2 separate regions of the Homo sapiens genome follow, and region 1 is linked to region 2. The links are contacts of gene promoters, found by promoter capture Hi-C in blood cells and fetal thymus (Javierre and others, 2016). All regions are on one chromosome and are shown on one strand. Each heading gives the region's core, a stretch centred on a gene start or on the middle of the fragment in contact. The rest is flanking DNA. Distances are from core to core; before and after follow the strand shown. Region 1 overlaps GTPBP10 (GTP binding protein 10). Region 2 holds the start of KRIT1 (KRIT1 ankyrin repeat containing).

What was found. Contacts are between HindIII fragments. The CHiCAGO score rates a contact against its expected background, and 5 or more counts as called.
Region 1: a contact is called between a fragment that was not itself captured here and the fragment with the promoter of KRIT1 in region 2, in 1 of 17 cell types (fetal thymus). The highest score is 6.6, in fetal thymus.

What each region holds. Positions count from the first base shown.
Region 1 is chr7:90,347,597-90,351,252 of GRCh38, forward strand. All of the region lies in intron 1 of GTPBP10 (GTP binding protein 10), which reads left to right. The region is part of intron 1 of LOC107986715 (a long non-coding RNA gene); the gene reads right to left. Among named protein-coding and RNA genes, the nearest start is that of GTPBP10, 2.7 kb to the left of the region's middle. The HindIII fragment of the contact is 6,192 bases long and covers 1-3,656 here.
Region 2 is chr7:92,243,910-92,247,702 of GRCh38, forward strand. It overlaps KRIT1 (KRIT1 ankyrin repeat containing), which reads right to left and starts at 2,005. Exons shown (of 19, transcript NM_194454.3): 1 at 1,881-2,005; 2 at 993-1,262; 3 at 93-240. ANKIB1 (ankyrin repeat and IBR domain containing 1) reads left to right here and starts at 2,065. Exons shown (of 20, transcript NM_019004.2): 1 at 2,065-2,610. RefSeq lists an enhancer at 1,886-2,180 and a silencer at 2,111-2,500. The HindIII fragment of the contact is 4,029 bases long and covers 1-3,472 here.

The DNA.
Region 1 (3,656 bases), core at 497-2,996, 1.9 Mb before region 2:
TTTAATAGCCTAAGAGGTTAATACGTAAGTCCTTTACCTACAAGAAGTTCTTGATTTAGTGAAGGAAACAGGTAAACACTAAATGCAGCGTGAGATTTATAAAGGTGTAATAATAGAGATATAATCAAATTGCTGGGAGAGCCAGCAAAGTCAGAGAATTGATTAGAGGAATTTGGAAAGACGTTAGAAAATATGACGTTTAGGTGGATTTATGATAGGAAAAACAAATGACATTCTAAGTAGAGGAAAAGCATGAGCAGAATGGCATGTAGAAATGGCGGTATTTCATGTAGTACAGAGCAAAGAGGAAGAGAGGAAGGGTTGAGCAAGTGAAAAGGATACAGGAAGGAACTAGGCATGGTAGGTGAGCCTATTGTTCTTGCTACTTGGGAGGCTGAGGTGGGAGGATCCCTTAAGGCCAGGAGTTCAAGACCAGTCTGGGCAACATAGCAAGACCCCATCTTTAAAACAGTCGGGGTGGTGTGGTGCCTGTAGTCCCAGCCATTTGGGAGGCTGAAGTGGGAGAATTGCTTGAGCCCAGGAGTTTGAGGCTGCAGCAATGATAGTGCTATGATAGTGCCACGGCACTCGAGCCCAGGCACCAGAACCAGACCCTGTTTCAAAAAAAAGAAAATAAAAGATACCAGAAGGGTATTTTAGTAGCTTTGGATATACAGTTGACCCTTCAAGAACATGGGGGTTAGAGATGCCCCCGCCACAGCTGAAAATCTTCATGTAACTTTCAACTCCCCCCACAAAACAACTACTAATAATCTGTTGGCTGGAAGCCTCACTGATAACATAAGCCGTCAGTTGACACATATAAAATATATATATAGTATATACTGTATTCTTAAATTAAGCTAGAGAAAAGAAACAGTTACTAAGAAAGTCAGAAAGAAGGGAAAATATATTTACTGTTCATTAAATGGAAGTGAATTGTAAAGGTCTTCATCCTTATAGTCTTCATGTTGAATAGACTGAGGAGGAAGAGGAGGAGTTGGTCTTGCTCTCTTGGGTGGCAGAGGCAGAAGGGGTGGGGGTGGAGGAGGTGGAAGGGGAGGCAAGAGAGGCAGACACACTATGTGTAACTTTATGGAAGTACATCATAATTTCTGTCATGCTTTTGCTTTTCTCTTTCCCCCAAAAAAATGTTTCTATAGGGTACCAATACCTCTTCCACCATTTGCTTTGGTTTCAGTGCCTCTTCACAGAAGGGTCCATGTCATAAAAGAAGTCAAAAGCAGTCCTGAACAATAGGAGCTCTTCTGCCAGATTATCTAATGTTCGTTTTTCTGGTAGTTTATTCTGTGTTTTCTTCCTTGTTATCTGGCACTGGATCTGAAGCACTCATCAAGCTGTCTTCTGTTAATTCCTCTGGTTTGGTGGCTGTTAGCTCTTGAGTTTCTTCAAGATCCATATCTTGAAGTCCTTTACCCACTTTCCCGCCGTTTTTGGCATATTCACAGCCTCTTTCATGATTTCCTTGATTGGCTCTTTTGTAAATCCTGTGAAATTATAACACAACACAACACCTGGACAAAGTTTTCTCCAGCACGAACTTACTGTTTGGGGCTTATGGCTTTCATGGCTTTTTCAATAATAATGGCATCTTCAATTATGTAAACTTCAGATTTTCCTGAAGTTTTCTCTATTAGTGTTCTTTTCCATGGTTGACAATCCTTTTCGTAGAAAATCATGTTTAATGAGCCTTAAAGGTCCTTGCGACCCCGTGATCTAGAGGCTGATTTACAGACATTGTGTTTGGGGGCAAGGACACCACTTCAGTGCCTTTGATGTTGAACTCATGGGGTTCTGGGTAGCGGGGAGGTGGGGCACTGTCCATTAGCAGAGGAACTTTACAAGTCAGTCTCGTATTGGGAAGGTACTTCCTGACTTCAGGGAGAAAGCATCCATGGAACCAATCCAGAGAAAAGGTTTTTGTTCTCTAGGCCTTCTTATCCAACAAAGACTGGCAGCTGATGTTTATCTTTCCCTTTCAAGATTGAGGGGTTAGCAGCTTTATAGATAAGGACAGTCCTGATTACAAACACAACTGCATTTGCACAATACAGTAGGGTTAGCCTATCCCTTCCTGGCTTAAATCCTGGTGCTCCCTTCTCTTCCTTACTAATGTCTTTTGTAGCATGTTTTCCAGAATAGGGTACTTTCATCAGCATTAACAACCTGATTTGGGAGATATTCTTTCGTCTCAGTGATTTTCTTAATGGCATCTGGGAACTCATCTGCTGCCTCTTAGTTGGCAGAACCTGCTTCACCTGTTATCTTGATATTTCTAAAGCCAAAGCCAAACCTATTTCTTCTTTTTTTTTTTTAAATTATACTTTAAGTTCTAGGGTACATGTACACAGCGTGCAGGTTTGTTACATAGGTATACATGTGCCATGTTGGTTTGCTGCACCCATTAACTTGTCATTTACATTGGGTATTTCTCCTAATGTTATCTCTCACCCAGCCCCCAACCCCATGACAGGTCCCAGTGTGTGATGTTCCCCCCGTGTCCCAAGTGTTCTCATTGTTCAGTTCCCACCTATGAGTGAGAACATGTGGTGTTTGGTTTTCTGTCCTTGTGATAGTTTGGTCAGAATGATGGTTTCCAGCTGCATCCATGTCACTCATCCTTTTTATGGCTGCATAGTATTCCATCGTGTATATGTGCCACATTTTCTTAATCCAGTCTATCATTGATGGACATTTGGGTTGGTTCCAAGTCTTTGCTGTTGTGAATAGTGCCACAATAAACATACGTGTGCATGTGTCTTTATAGTGGCATGATTTTTAATCCTTTGGGTATATATCCAGTAATGGGATGGCTGGGTCAAATGGTATTTCTAGTTCTAGATTCTTGAGGAATCTAGAACTGTCTTCCACAGTCAAACCTCCTTCTAAAATTATCAAATCATCCTTTGCTGGCAATTAATTCTTTAGCTTTAGATCCTTCACATTCCTTTTGCTTTTAAGTTGTCATATGGTAACCTTACTTTTTCTTTTATTGTATTAGTCTATGTTTTTAAAATAGGAATCCTGCATCTACATAAAAGTTGCCTTTTTAATACAAGATAAAAAGTTAATTCACAAAAAGTGCAAGGTTTTCACACCTTTTGGCATAGCTGCTGCAGTGGCTTCATGAATTTTTGTCTTTTTTTACACTGATTCTTATTCTGGATTCATTTATCTTGAGATAGCAGGCCATCGCAGCTACAGATTTTAATCTGTGGTAGATATCAAGCAATTCATCTTTTTATCGTAGTGTCATGACTTTACTTCTTGGGAGCACTGCCAGCATCACTAGTGGCACTTTGTATGGGTTCCATGGTGGTGTTCAAGGTTTACAGTGTAGCGCTGAACATGATGAAAAATGCAAGAGAACTGTGAGAGATTACTTTTTACTGACTTATAAAATGTACTGGCAAGATGAACTGCTCATGGGGAGACGATTAGCATCACATGGCCTTTTAAGTGGCAACTTGGGACACTTGAGATCCCGGGATAGTTACAGGAGGTAACTACGAAATTATTACAGTATTCCACGATGTACTACAGTTAATTTTATGCAGTTATGATTTAATACTGCATTTTTACATTTGCTTACATTTCTCTTGACTGCAAATGCTGCCATGTAAGATCTGTAAGTG
Region 2 (3,793 bases), core at 755-3,254:
GGTTTTGAGGACGTTATCATTCTTTATCATTATATACTTCATGAAATTTTTTTCAGTTCAATTTTTTGTATAAAATCATTCTTAAAACCCACCTCATGCAACAGACCTTCCTACATCATGTGAAAAGGATGAGGCCTTTTTCTTCTCAGAATTTCTATTTAGCAATTACTTTTCACCACAGATTAACAATGACTTCAAGATAATAAACGTTTACAAATTATGAGACAGACGCATTGAAGACTGCAAGCCCCAAAAAGAAAGACATTGTATTGTGAATACACTGTATGATATATGGGCACAATTACAGAAACCATTTTATCTATTAAGGACCTAAAAGAAAAATCAAGTAACTCTTACTTTTCTAAAGACAATTTAAAGCAAATCAATTCCTGTCTTGGTCAACTCATGTTAAGAAAACATTTACTAGCAAAGTACTTTGTCAATACTCATCACTTCTCTAGAATATTTAATTAATACTGCACAGAAGCCTGAACTTTTAAAAGGTAAACAAATGTGATTTTAAAAAGACATAACTATGACAGTAACAGTATTTTGTTTTCTTAAACCAAATACTTTTTTACCATATCCCCAAAATATTCTTAAAATTCATTTTCAAGAACTATTCGTACTTGACTACTTAAAATCTACATTCTTCCAGTGACATGAAAGAAGGAAACAAAGGCTTAACAGGAAAATAACAAAAGTAACTAACATAGGAAGGTAAAACTGCTAAGGGAGAAACACAGACAAACTGATAGAAAATGAGTAGCTTGAACTAAAATACAAGAAAGGTATAACTAGAGTTTGCAATATGTTTAGACTGAGTCTGAGATGAGGGTTCAAGTGAATAAGTACAGGAAACGTGGCATTTTGTTATATGGCTCACTCCATTCTGGAAAATGTTAGGCACAAATGATAATATGCTCCCTAAGTAATAAGATCTTATAAATAAAGCAGTGGAAGTGGTCCTTAATTAGGGGGGTGGCACCTACCTGGGATCACTGGAAAATATGGAGGGCATTTCTGGTTGTCACTATGACTGATGAGGGGAGATGTACAACTGCCATTTAGTGTCCATGGAACAGGTTTGCTAACATCCTCTTAGTATGCTAGACAGCGTTTGCAAACAGAAACTGTAAAGGCACATATGCACTCCAGAAGGGTAAGAAAATAATGAGGCTGAGATCCTGAGTTGGACCACCGAGATGAAAGACTTCTGGTGAGGCTAAAAACATGTAGAAAAAGCGATGAAAGCCAAAAACCTTAAAAGGTGGAGAAAAGTGTAGAGGCGAGAAGTGAGTTACAGGGGGAGAAGTGAGTTAGAATGACAAGCTGTGAATCCCTTTCCCTGCAATGACAAAAATACGTAATCACTCTGCCTGGGAGGTTTTTTCCTGCGCCACCACCCGTCAACGTCCACTACTGGGGAAAAACGTAAGCCTCTTTGCTCAAAGAGTTTCCACCCAAAAAGTGGCTATGGTTTCTCTGTAACTACATGTGAAAAATAAACTCCTTGCCTGGGGCAACTAGATGTGGAGATGGTTCAGTCTCCCACCTCCGTTTTCCCTCGCTGGAGTCGAACTTGCTCCTCCTGTTTCCCGAAGGACACCGAGAGGTCCCACCCGTACGGGCTGCCGCGAGTGCCTCTCTGGCCGCTACATTCAACTAAATGGGTGGGACAGTCACCTGGCGAGGGGGGGCAGGGACCGTCACCGCTTTCTCATTCCTCCTTCCCTCCTCCCAGGCACAGCAGCCCGGCCCAGCTTCCTGTGGCAGAAAAACCCTCAGTCGCCAAAAGAAAGCCGTCTTGAGGGTTCCCCCGCGCTCCCACCCGCGCCCCAAAAGCTCAGGTCTCTGGAGTCGGAGACCCTCCTGCCCACCTGCTCTTTACTGTCCTTCCCTCTCCTCGCACCTCAGCACCATTCACCCCTCACCCTCTCCCGAAACTACGGGGTCCCAGGTCTTCAAAGGCCTTAGCTTTCCACCCCGCCGTTACCGTGGCTATGAAATCGCTTCCGGGTTCACACCCTTTGCAGCCTCGCGGTTGGCGGTGAAAGAGCTTCCGGGTCGGCGGCCGGGCTGCTGCCGTTCCTGCTCCTTTTCACTGGACCTGCAGTCTCTCAGGGGCTGGTGGCAGGCGACTAGGAGACTAGGGTGGTGGCGGTGGGGGTGCCAGCGGCTGAGCCGGAGCCGGAGCCGGAGGCGGGGGAGGGGAAGAGGGCGGCCGGGGCTGCGAGCGCGCAAGGCTGGAACATGAGCCGGGCTTGACCGCGAGGCGGAGGCAAGAGCCACCGCCCCCTCTTCCCCTCCCCCGAGTGAGGCGGCGCAGCGGCCGGAGAGGGATGGGGGGCGCCCACCCAGTCTGAGCCTCGCCGCGGGCGCCTTCGGCTCACGCAGCGCTTCCCGCGGGCCGCCAGTGCGCACCCTCGGCCACATCAGCCTCCGCCTGGCGGGTGCACCCGGGCCGGCGAGGAAGGGGCAACCGTCCGGGTGGGTGGGGCGGGCTGGGTACCTGAGGTCACCAGCTCGGCTGTAGAGGCAGGGGCGGCGGAGGCGGAACTGCGGAGTTGCTGGGTCCACCGACCCTTACCCTCAGCGAGAGAAGTAACCGTAAGTCTCAGCTTCGCGGTACAGATGTGTTTGAGGCTGCCTCTACCCATTTGTGGCTCCGAGTTCAGAGCTACCTACTTCACACCCTCCCGGATCTACTAGGAGTGTGTCTGTCGCCTGTTTTGGAGCATTGTTGTTCTGTCTGTCCCCATCCCTGAACAGGCAGCATTCTCTGCCCTACAGGGCTTTTCTCCCAGCGAATTTGCAAGCCTCCGGGTCTCCGTGACGCGTCCCATCCTCCCCATCTGGATGCATCTCCTTGTCCCTCTGTCCTCAAAGGATCTGTGTCCTTCCTCGCAGCCTCCCCCCCACCCCCATCCTTTGAGACGTGGAAAGCCACGGGTTCTGCCGACCTCGGGGGCTAGAGAGAGTCTTGAGAAGCGGATGGGTAAAAGTGCTCTGCAGGGCTGTGATGGGTGGGGATAGGTGCAGATGGCTCCAGTGAACCTTTATTTTTGCAGCTTCTGCCACCAAAACAAAAGAATGGAGCGCTCCCCTGTATTCTTATTCTTCTCCGTATGTATGAGCTGTTTTTCTGTACGTAGCTGTTTGAGTCGCAGGAAATTGAAACTAGAGCTGTAATAAAGCATCTCCTGAGGAGATTTTGAGAATTAGTCTCCCAAGCTCTATTCACACGGAATGGCATATCGAACAATCTTGTATTGGAATGACCATTTCAGAAGAGCTTTACTGGTAGATCTGACAGATAAATGTAAAGATAAGAGTCTGCTGTTTCAAATAGTGTATTTTAGATACCTTTAAATTTTAGTGTTCTAATTTTCATCTAGTTCTTAATTTGTGAAGTATGTGGGTATGTGTAAGGTGTAAAAATCTGTGTATTGGAAGGTTTTGCTTTGTTACAAGCTTTTGCTTTGTTGCTTTTGAGACAGACGTTTAAAGATCATATTAGATTGTATTTGATAATTATTTTCAATCATTAATTCCAGAGAAATCTTTTTTTGTATCAGCCACTCACAGATGTTACACACCTTGGTGCCTATGACCCTCCTGCTGCTTAAACTGTGAATGTCTTCAAAGTATATTTTCAGATTTTTGAACTAGGCGTTTTTTCTCATTAGAATTTGATTTGCTTTTCAAACTGCTCCTGCAGAACTTTCCAGAAATTAGATTTAAAAATAATTTTAATGCTGTCAGTGATTGGACAATAGCTCTTATATGACTT